Linked DNA regions of Homo sapiens: region 2 is linked to region 1. The links are contacts of gene promoters, found by promoter capture Hi-C in human tissues and cell types (Jung and others, 2019). All regions are on one chromosome and are shown on one strand. Each heading gives the region's core, a stretch centred on a gene start or on the middle of the fragment in contact. The rest is flanking DNA. Distances are from core to core; before and after follow the strand shown.

Region 1 (3,951 bases), core at 523-3,022:
CATAATTGGGAGCCAAATATTTTATCTTTAGGCTGGGCGCAGTGGCTCATGCCTGTAATCCCAGCACTTTGAGAGGCCGAGGTGGGTGATCACCTGAGGTCGGGAGTTCAAGACCAGCCTGACCAACATGGAGAAACCCCGTCTCTACTAAAAATACAAAATCAGCCAGGGTAGTGGCACATGCCTGTAATCCCAGCTACTCGGGAGGCTGAGGCAGGAGAATCGCTTGAATGCGGGAGGCGGAGGTTGTAGTGAGCCGAGATCGCGCCATTGCACTCCAGCCTGGGCAACAAGAGCGAAACTCCGTCTCAAAAAAAAAAAAAAAAAATTTATCTTTGAACTTTTCAATTTGTATTTATTTATTTATTTATTTTTAGAGATAGGGTCTCACTCCACCGCCCATTGTAAATCAAAAATGAAATCCTAAGACCCCTCAACCATCTGCATGGACCCCACCAAGGGCATTCCAGAGTTAACCTTGTTTTAGGTTGTTTTAAGCAAAACTTGTTTAGGCCATGATGGGAAGTGGGGGTGGAACTTGACACATTTCATCCTCCTCCCTTTTAGAATTCAGGAAAAGCAGACCAGCATTTAACATGCTGGACACTTAACTTACCTGGAGGCTTCATCTGCATGATAAAACTTCAGTCTCCACAGCCTCTTATTGTAACCCAAACATTCCTTTCCATTGATAATAAATCTTTCAACCAAATGCCAATCAGAAAATTTTCAATCTACCTATAACCCGGAAACCCCCGACCCACCCACCTCCTCAGCTGTCATACCTTTATGGACCGAACCAATGTACATCTTAATCTTACATGTATTTGACTGATGACTCATGGCTCCCCTAAAATGCATAAAACCACACTGGGCCCCGACCACCTTGCGTACGCGTTCTCAGGGTCTCCAAATGGCTGTGTCACCAGCCATGGTCACTCATATTTGGCTCAGAATTAATCCCTTCAAATATTTTATAGAGTTTTGACTTTTTGTCAACCGCAGGCTGCGTCACAGCTCGCTGCAGCCCCAAACTCCTGCGCTGAAGCGATCCTTTCCCCCACAACTTCTCGAGTAGCAGGGACTTCAGGTGCGTGCCACTACACCTGGCTTTTTTTTTTTTTTTTTTTGGTACTTTTGTTGTTATGGTGGGGGCGGGGGACTTGCTATGTTGCCCAGGCTGGTCTCGCATCTCTGGGATCAAGCCATCCTCCCACTTCAGCGTCCCAGAGTGCTGGAATTACAGGCCTAAGCAACGGCACCCAGCCTATCTTTTAATTTTTAACTTCAAAGTTATCGTTAAAAATCTAATCCCCCCAAAATATGAAAAAAATACTTAATATGCACTGACCTGTAGTTTTTCTCTAATTCACTATCTTAAATATATTAATTGCAATCTCATCAACTGCGACTTGCATTTGAAATTTTCCACCTTAAACGGTATTTTTTGATAAGATGGATTTTTTAAAAAATCTACACCAGCAAACTAGAGTGAGAGACCCCTGCAAAGTAATACATGGGCCTTAAGTCACCGAGATTTTCCAGCAAATAATTTGCAGAATGCTGTTTTTCCTAGGTTAACTTGCAATCCTAACACGGAAGGAGGTTCCGTTTTTAGAAGTTTAAATGTTGTCACACGGGCGCAAGAATACATACAACAGCCATGCTTTCCAGCTCTGCGCACAACGCCAGGCAGATGGGGAGCACCGGGCGGTGCGGGAGCCCTTTCACCAGGGCAGGGTGGCTTCGGTGGCCGAGGGACCCGGGAACTGCAGCCGGAGCCGGCGCGCACCCAGCCAACTTCCTGTTTCCGCGGTAGCGCGCGGGCCTGTCACTGAAGCCCCGCCCCGGCGACCTCAGGCGGGCGGGGAAGACCGAGTCTTCCCGGAGCCGCTTCGTCCGCCCGGCGCCGGAGTCCCACGGCCGGTTTGCGGAAGCGGGTCGTCTGAAGGGGCCCGGCGGGTGGCTCCCGGGTCTCCGCGGCCTGTGATCCCCAGAGCGGACAACCGCAGCTGGGGCTCCGTGCGCAACTCGGAGTAAAGGCCGGAACCTACGCTCGGCGGCCGCGTCCCGGCCCCTAGCGCCCTCCGCGAAGTGCCTGGCAGGCTCGGCAGTCTGAGTGTCGCGTTACAGAGTCCCCTGGGCAGTCACCGCTGAAGGGCGGGGGACGCGGGAAAGGCATTTTGGGGACACAGGAGAGCTGCGAGGGCGAAGCACGGGCGAGCTGTCGTTAGGGCCCAGGAAAGGCCCGTTGCGGGGCGCACAGGCGGGCAGGGGAACTCGCGCCCCGCGCCGCGCGCCCGGCCTCCTGACGCCAGGGCCGGCTTCTGAGCACAGCCACCGCGGCGGCCGGGGGCGGCCACTGCTCCCCGCGAGCCCGCTTCCGCGCCCCAGAAGCCCCCAGAGCCCGCGTCCGAGCTCCAGGCCTTGGAGGAGCCAGGCGGGCAGCTGACAGCCCCGGAGCCGCTCCCGGGTTCCGCGCGCGGTGGCAGCCAGGCCGTGCCTCCCCGTTCCCCTCCCGCGCCGCGCTGCCCCTCCGGGACCCACCAGGCCTGGCTGCGCCTCTTTCCTCTCCTCCCCCGGAGCCTTGGAAAGTGCCCTCCAGAGATGTGCTTAGGAAGTGTGTGATGAATAAAGGAGACAATCAGGATAACTATAATATTTATTATGCACTTGCTTTTTTCTCACTGATGTTACTAATTTTAATGGTGTAGCGCGGCGCGTTCCAGTTTTCTAAGTGCTCTCACATCCGTTCAAAAAATCCTCAAAATAAGCCTGTATATTAAAAGCAGGAGCCATTATTTCATATTTCAAGAAGTAAACATGCTCAGAGTAATAATCCACATAGAGCCTTCCAACCAGTCAATTCTGGTACATTTTCACAAATCTATGAGTGTGGTTAATACACGGAGATGTGGTTTGAGGAATTATATAGGACACAGCCAGCAAAATGCCTGGTATACAATAAGTATGCGGTAAATGGTTATTATTATTAAGAATATTGTAATATCTTCAGATATGATCAGGTGAACAACTTTGACATAATCGAAACTGGGACAGCCTGATTCCATAAACACACTAATATGGCACCGTGGATTGTTTGCAGCCTCACCTCTAAAGTATTCTCTCTGACTAACAAAGAAAGGGAAACTAGAACCAGTTAAGCTTATAACACTAATCACAGGCTAAAGGAAATACAGGGGCCAAATGAACCCATTAGATTACACCACCAGGAAGTAATCTGCCAAATCCAGAATGTGGGAAATTCTACAAACCAAATGACCCAATTTCTTTTTTCAAAAATAAATGTTCAGAGGCTGAAGTGGGAGGATTGCTTAAGGCCAGAGTTCAAGGCTGTAGTGAGCTATGATCACAGCTGTGAATAGCCACTGCACTCCAGGCTGGGCAACACAGCTAGACCCCCCATGTCTTTAAAAAAAAGAGGGTGGGGGGACCTTGAGAGACACATTAGCCAAATGCAATTTGTGGACCTTGTTTGGGTCATGATTAAGACAAACAAACTTTTACATAAATAAATGGCATTTTTAAAAACATTGGCGGCCAGGCGCGGTGGTTCTTGCCTGTAATGCCAGCACTTTGGGAGGCCGAGGCGGGCAGATCAGGAGGTCAGGAGATCAAGACCATCCTGGCTAACACGGTGAAACCCCGTCTCTACTAAAAAAAAAAAAAAAAAAAAAAAAATTAGCCGGGTGTAGTGGCAGGTGCCTGTAGTCCCAGCTACTCGGGAGGTTGAGGCAGGAGAATGGTGTGAACCCGGGAGGCAGAGCTTGCAGTGAGCCCAGATCACGCCACTGCACTCCAGCCTGGGCGACAGAGTGAGACTCCATCTCAAAAAAAAAAAAAAAAATTGGGAAACTTAAACATGGACTGAATGTTAGGTGACATTAAATAACTTCAGGTAATTTTATTACGATAATACCATAGTGGCTA
Region 2 (3,951 bases), core at 441-2,940, 160 kb before region 1:
TGAACTGAAACAGCTGCCTTGAATTTTTTCATCCTTTCATCCAGTTGTTAATTAAATTTCTGCAGGGGTGGGAGGCTCCTTATAATGGGAAACAAATTTCCTTCTTACTGCTATTGGGGACTTAAGCTCAGCTAACCAGAGAACAGGTGACTTTTTTTTCAACATTTGCCATCTTCAATCCGAAAGACTGAAAGAGACCAAGTTTTTAAATTATTATTCAAAATTTACAAAACTAAGTATAAAAGAAATTTAAATAATTAAACTTTCAAATGCACTAAGACTTCTGAGATGCCTTCTGCAGCCCTGGCCCTGGCTGTCCCCTCCAACCTGACCCGCTGGTGCCTAGTCTTTTCCATCACATTTGATTTATTTGAATAAATCAGAGCCCATGGCTTCACAGGACCGTATATGGCATTTGGGCCCTCTTTGGCAGCAACGACTGCCTTTCTGTTCACACGCATTTCGTTTTGAGAATGCCAATGGACACACCAACTGCTTCTTTGGATTTCACCAGTTGGCAGTGGTTGATCAGCTATTTGGAATGCAGCCGATTTGAGTGAAGAAATATCCATATTTGTAGCCCTGTTACAATAGTGAAAGCTACAACCACAAAAAAAAGATGCAACACCATTTTGAATTTGAACACCAGACCAACGTGAATAGTGAGATAATCGTCATCTTTACGACAAAAGAGGGATTGAGCAAACAGTTTGTATGTTGGATGATGTATTTGCAATTACTTTGCTAGATACTGCCAATAAGAAAGTGTTCTTGGGCAGAGATACCTAGGGAGTCGGGTTTTGTTTAAAGCCGTAACAGAAGATGGATTTTGGTTGTGTCTTCAGAAGCTGAAGTTCTTGTTCCATTGGAGCACTCCACGACTCCCCTTTTAAAAGTGGAGCCTTTTGTTCTGGGACACTATGAAGTTTTGGATTTAAAGGCAAATGGCAAAGTTGCATCTGTGGAAATGGTTAAATATCATCACTGTAGGTACAACCTCTGCATGCCTTCTGTAACAATGTGGAGAAGCTCTTCTCAGGTTTAGAGACAGAAACTTTGAAGAGCAAGCTTTGGTTCCTTTTTAACAATGATATTAAGAAGAATTTAATGCCAGGTGCAGTGGCTCACACCTGTAATCCCAGCACTTTGGGAGGCCAAGGTGGAAGGATCACTTGAGTCCAGGAGTTTAAGACCAGCTTGGGCAACATAGCAAGACCCCATCTCTACAGAAAATTTAAAAATTACCCAGGAGTGGTGGCACATGCCTGTAGTCCCAGCTACTTGGGAGGCCAAGGGGAGAGGATCCCTCCAGCCCAGGAGGTTGAGGCTACAGTGAGCTGTGATTGTGCCACTGCACTCAAGCCTGGCAGCAGAGTGAGACCCTGTGTCTAAAAAAAAGAAAGAAGAAGAAGGAGAGGGAGAAAAAGGAGAAGGACAATTTTGACGACAGACAGAAGGATAGGCTCCATTTTATTAGGGGCTTGGACTCTGGCTTGGTTGCTGCCACCCAGGTGAAGCAGCTGAAAGAGACGCAGTGCAAAATACACTCCCCAGACATTTGTGACTGGCATGGAGGGCAGCCCTGATTTATTGGTTGCTGGACGAGTGGCAGATCGTATTGGAAGTGAACATCATGAAACCCTCTTGAACTCTGAGGAAGGCACTCAGGCTCTGGATGAAGTCATATTTTCCTTGGAAACTTAGGACATTACAACAGTTTGCACTTCAGTAGGTGAGTATTTAATTTCCGAGTAGATTTGGAAGAACACAGATAGCATGGTGATCTTCTCTGGACAGAGATCAGATGAACTTATGCAGGGTTATGTATATTTTCATGAGGCCGAGGAGAGAGAGGCCTCTGAAGGAGCTCTATTTGTTTGGTGTTCTCAGCGCAGATCGAACTGCCCACGCTGCCCACAGCCTTGAACTGAGAGTCTGGTTTCTGCATCATCGATTTTCTTCCTGTTACATGTCTCTGCCACCAGAAATGAGAACTCCAAAGATGAGGTGGAGAAACAGCTCCTGAAAGAGACATTTGAGGACTCCAGTCTGAGACCCTGAAGAGATTCTCTGGGGAACAAAAGAAGCCTTCAGGGATGGAATAAGAATGCCTGGTTTAAGGTGTTACAGGAATATGTTGAACATCAGGTTGAAGACGCAATGACAGCAAATGTGGGCCAGAAATTTCCCTTCAATATCCTAAAGCCAAAGAAGTCTGTTCATGCCCTTGAGGCTTGAATGCCACTACCCAGGCAGGGTGCAGTGGCTGACCCAGTACCGCATGCCCACATGGATCGATGCCCGCTCACTGACCCACTGCAAGTCAGCTACCTAAGCCTAGGTGCTCTCTGAGCCAAAGAGCAACAGCAAATGTTCTTGTTGTGAAGGATAGGGGTACTGGGGATGGATAGGGGTACTGGGGATGGATAGGGGGGCAAGGAAAATCACCCAGGCCTACTGGGGTGTGAAAAAAATAAAAGTCTTAAATTAAAAAAAAAAAAGAAAGAAAAAGACTTCTGAGACATCCTGTATGTCTTAAACTTCAACAAGAGTGAGGAAACAACTGTTTTACTTTTGTGCCTTTCAAATTCTCCACGAGGTGACCAGGACCTTCTCTTCCTGGCTCTGGCGCAGTCAGCCTGGACCCTCTGCCGGTGGCTCCCAGGGCAGCCCTGGGTCCCCGCAGGTGGGTGTGTTGCCGGGGAGCGCAATGCTGCTGCTGCGGTTGCCTAGCAACAGACGCTCACACTGGCAGCGGGCGCCACTCTGCTCTTGGTACCCTCCCCACCAGCCCTGCTCCCACTGCTCCAGGTGGCCAGCTGGTACACCTGATGCTGATCCAATGGTTCTAAACACAAATGAGAATCGGTTTCCCAGACCAAACTAGAAAAAGGTCAGGTGATTGGGTTAAAAATTTTTTTAAGGTGTGTTGAATTCCTACCTGAAAATAGGCTAAGATTGGCTTTGCATTTTTCATGAGAAATGTCTCGTCACTGTGTAAGGAAAGTGCTTTTATGTTTTAGAGTGTTGGCAATGTGTTGTGGCACACAATGCAGGTAATAGTGCGAATGTTGCAGCCAGGCTGCAAGGGTCTGTGTCCCAGATACTCTTCTTACTCAGCCTCTCAGTCTCTGTAAAATGATGATGACAATAGTTCCCACCTTTTAGGGCAAATACCAAGTAAATTGTTCCATGGAAAGGATTTAACCCAGTGCCAGCAATCACTCCATAACTAGAAGCAGTTTTATAGCACACACATTATCATTATATTATTAATATATTAACTTCCTGGGTATATTTTGGTACTTTTTCATCACATCTGTTTACCTAATCCTTCTTAAATTTCAAATATAGAATTTATCTTTAACACTGATTGCTAAATCTGAACAAGTGGAAATCTTTTGCTATATTTTTAGGGAAACTAAATATCAGACTTCCTTAAAAATGTGACTTCTAGGTTCTAACATAATTCTCCCTTTATAAGTTTTCAAGGGATTTATTTTGTCCCCTGCTGTCCAACATTTTATAGAAATCTTGACATTAAAAAAAAGTTGGCAAATCCTTATAAAAATCCCACTACTCTATGCTTTTTTCAAAAAAAAGCACAGACACATACATTTTCTGGCCAGGCGCAGTAGCTCAGGTCTATAATCCCAGCTCTTTGGGAGGCCGAGGCGGTTGGATCACTTGAGGTCAGGAGTTTGAGACCAGTCTGGCCAACATGGTGAAACCCCGTCTCTACTAAAAATACAAAAAATTAGCTGGGTGTGATGGCGGGTGCCTATAATCCCAGCTACTCGGGAGGCTGAGGCATGAGAAGCCCCTGAAGCTGGGAGGCAGAGGTTGCAGTGAGCTGAGATCATGCCATGGCACTCCAGCCTGGGCAACAGAGCCAGACTCCATCTCAAAAAAAAAAAAAAAAAAAAAAAAAACCTCACCTTCTGACTGCCC

The links. The method cuts DNA at HindIII sites, captures the fragments that hold promoters and counts their contacts. A contact is called where the count stands out against the background at its distance.
Region 2: a contact is called between a fragment that was not itself captured here and the fragment with the promoter of MPPE1 in region 1, in 1 of the 25 tissues and cell types used here (aorta).

What each region holds. Positions count from the first base shown.
Region 1 is chr18:11,906,545-11,910,495 of GRCh38, forward strand. MPPE1 (metallophosphoesterase 1) reads right to left here and starts at 1,773. Exons shown (of 11, transcript NM_023075.6): 1 at 1,657-1,773. RefSeq lists a silencer at 2,166-2,565. The HindIII fragment of the contact is 9,458 bases long and covers 1-3,951 here.
Region 2 is chr18:11,745,220-11,749,170 of GRCh38, forward strand. The region is part of intron 1 of GNAL (G protein subunit alpha L); the gene reads left to right. It also overlaps the pseudogene ASNSP6. Among named protein-coding and RNA genes, the nearest start is that of GNAL, 58 kb to the left of the region's middle. The HindIII fragment of the contact is 7,412 bases long and covers 1-3,951 here.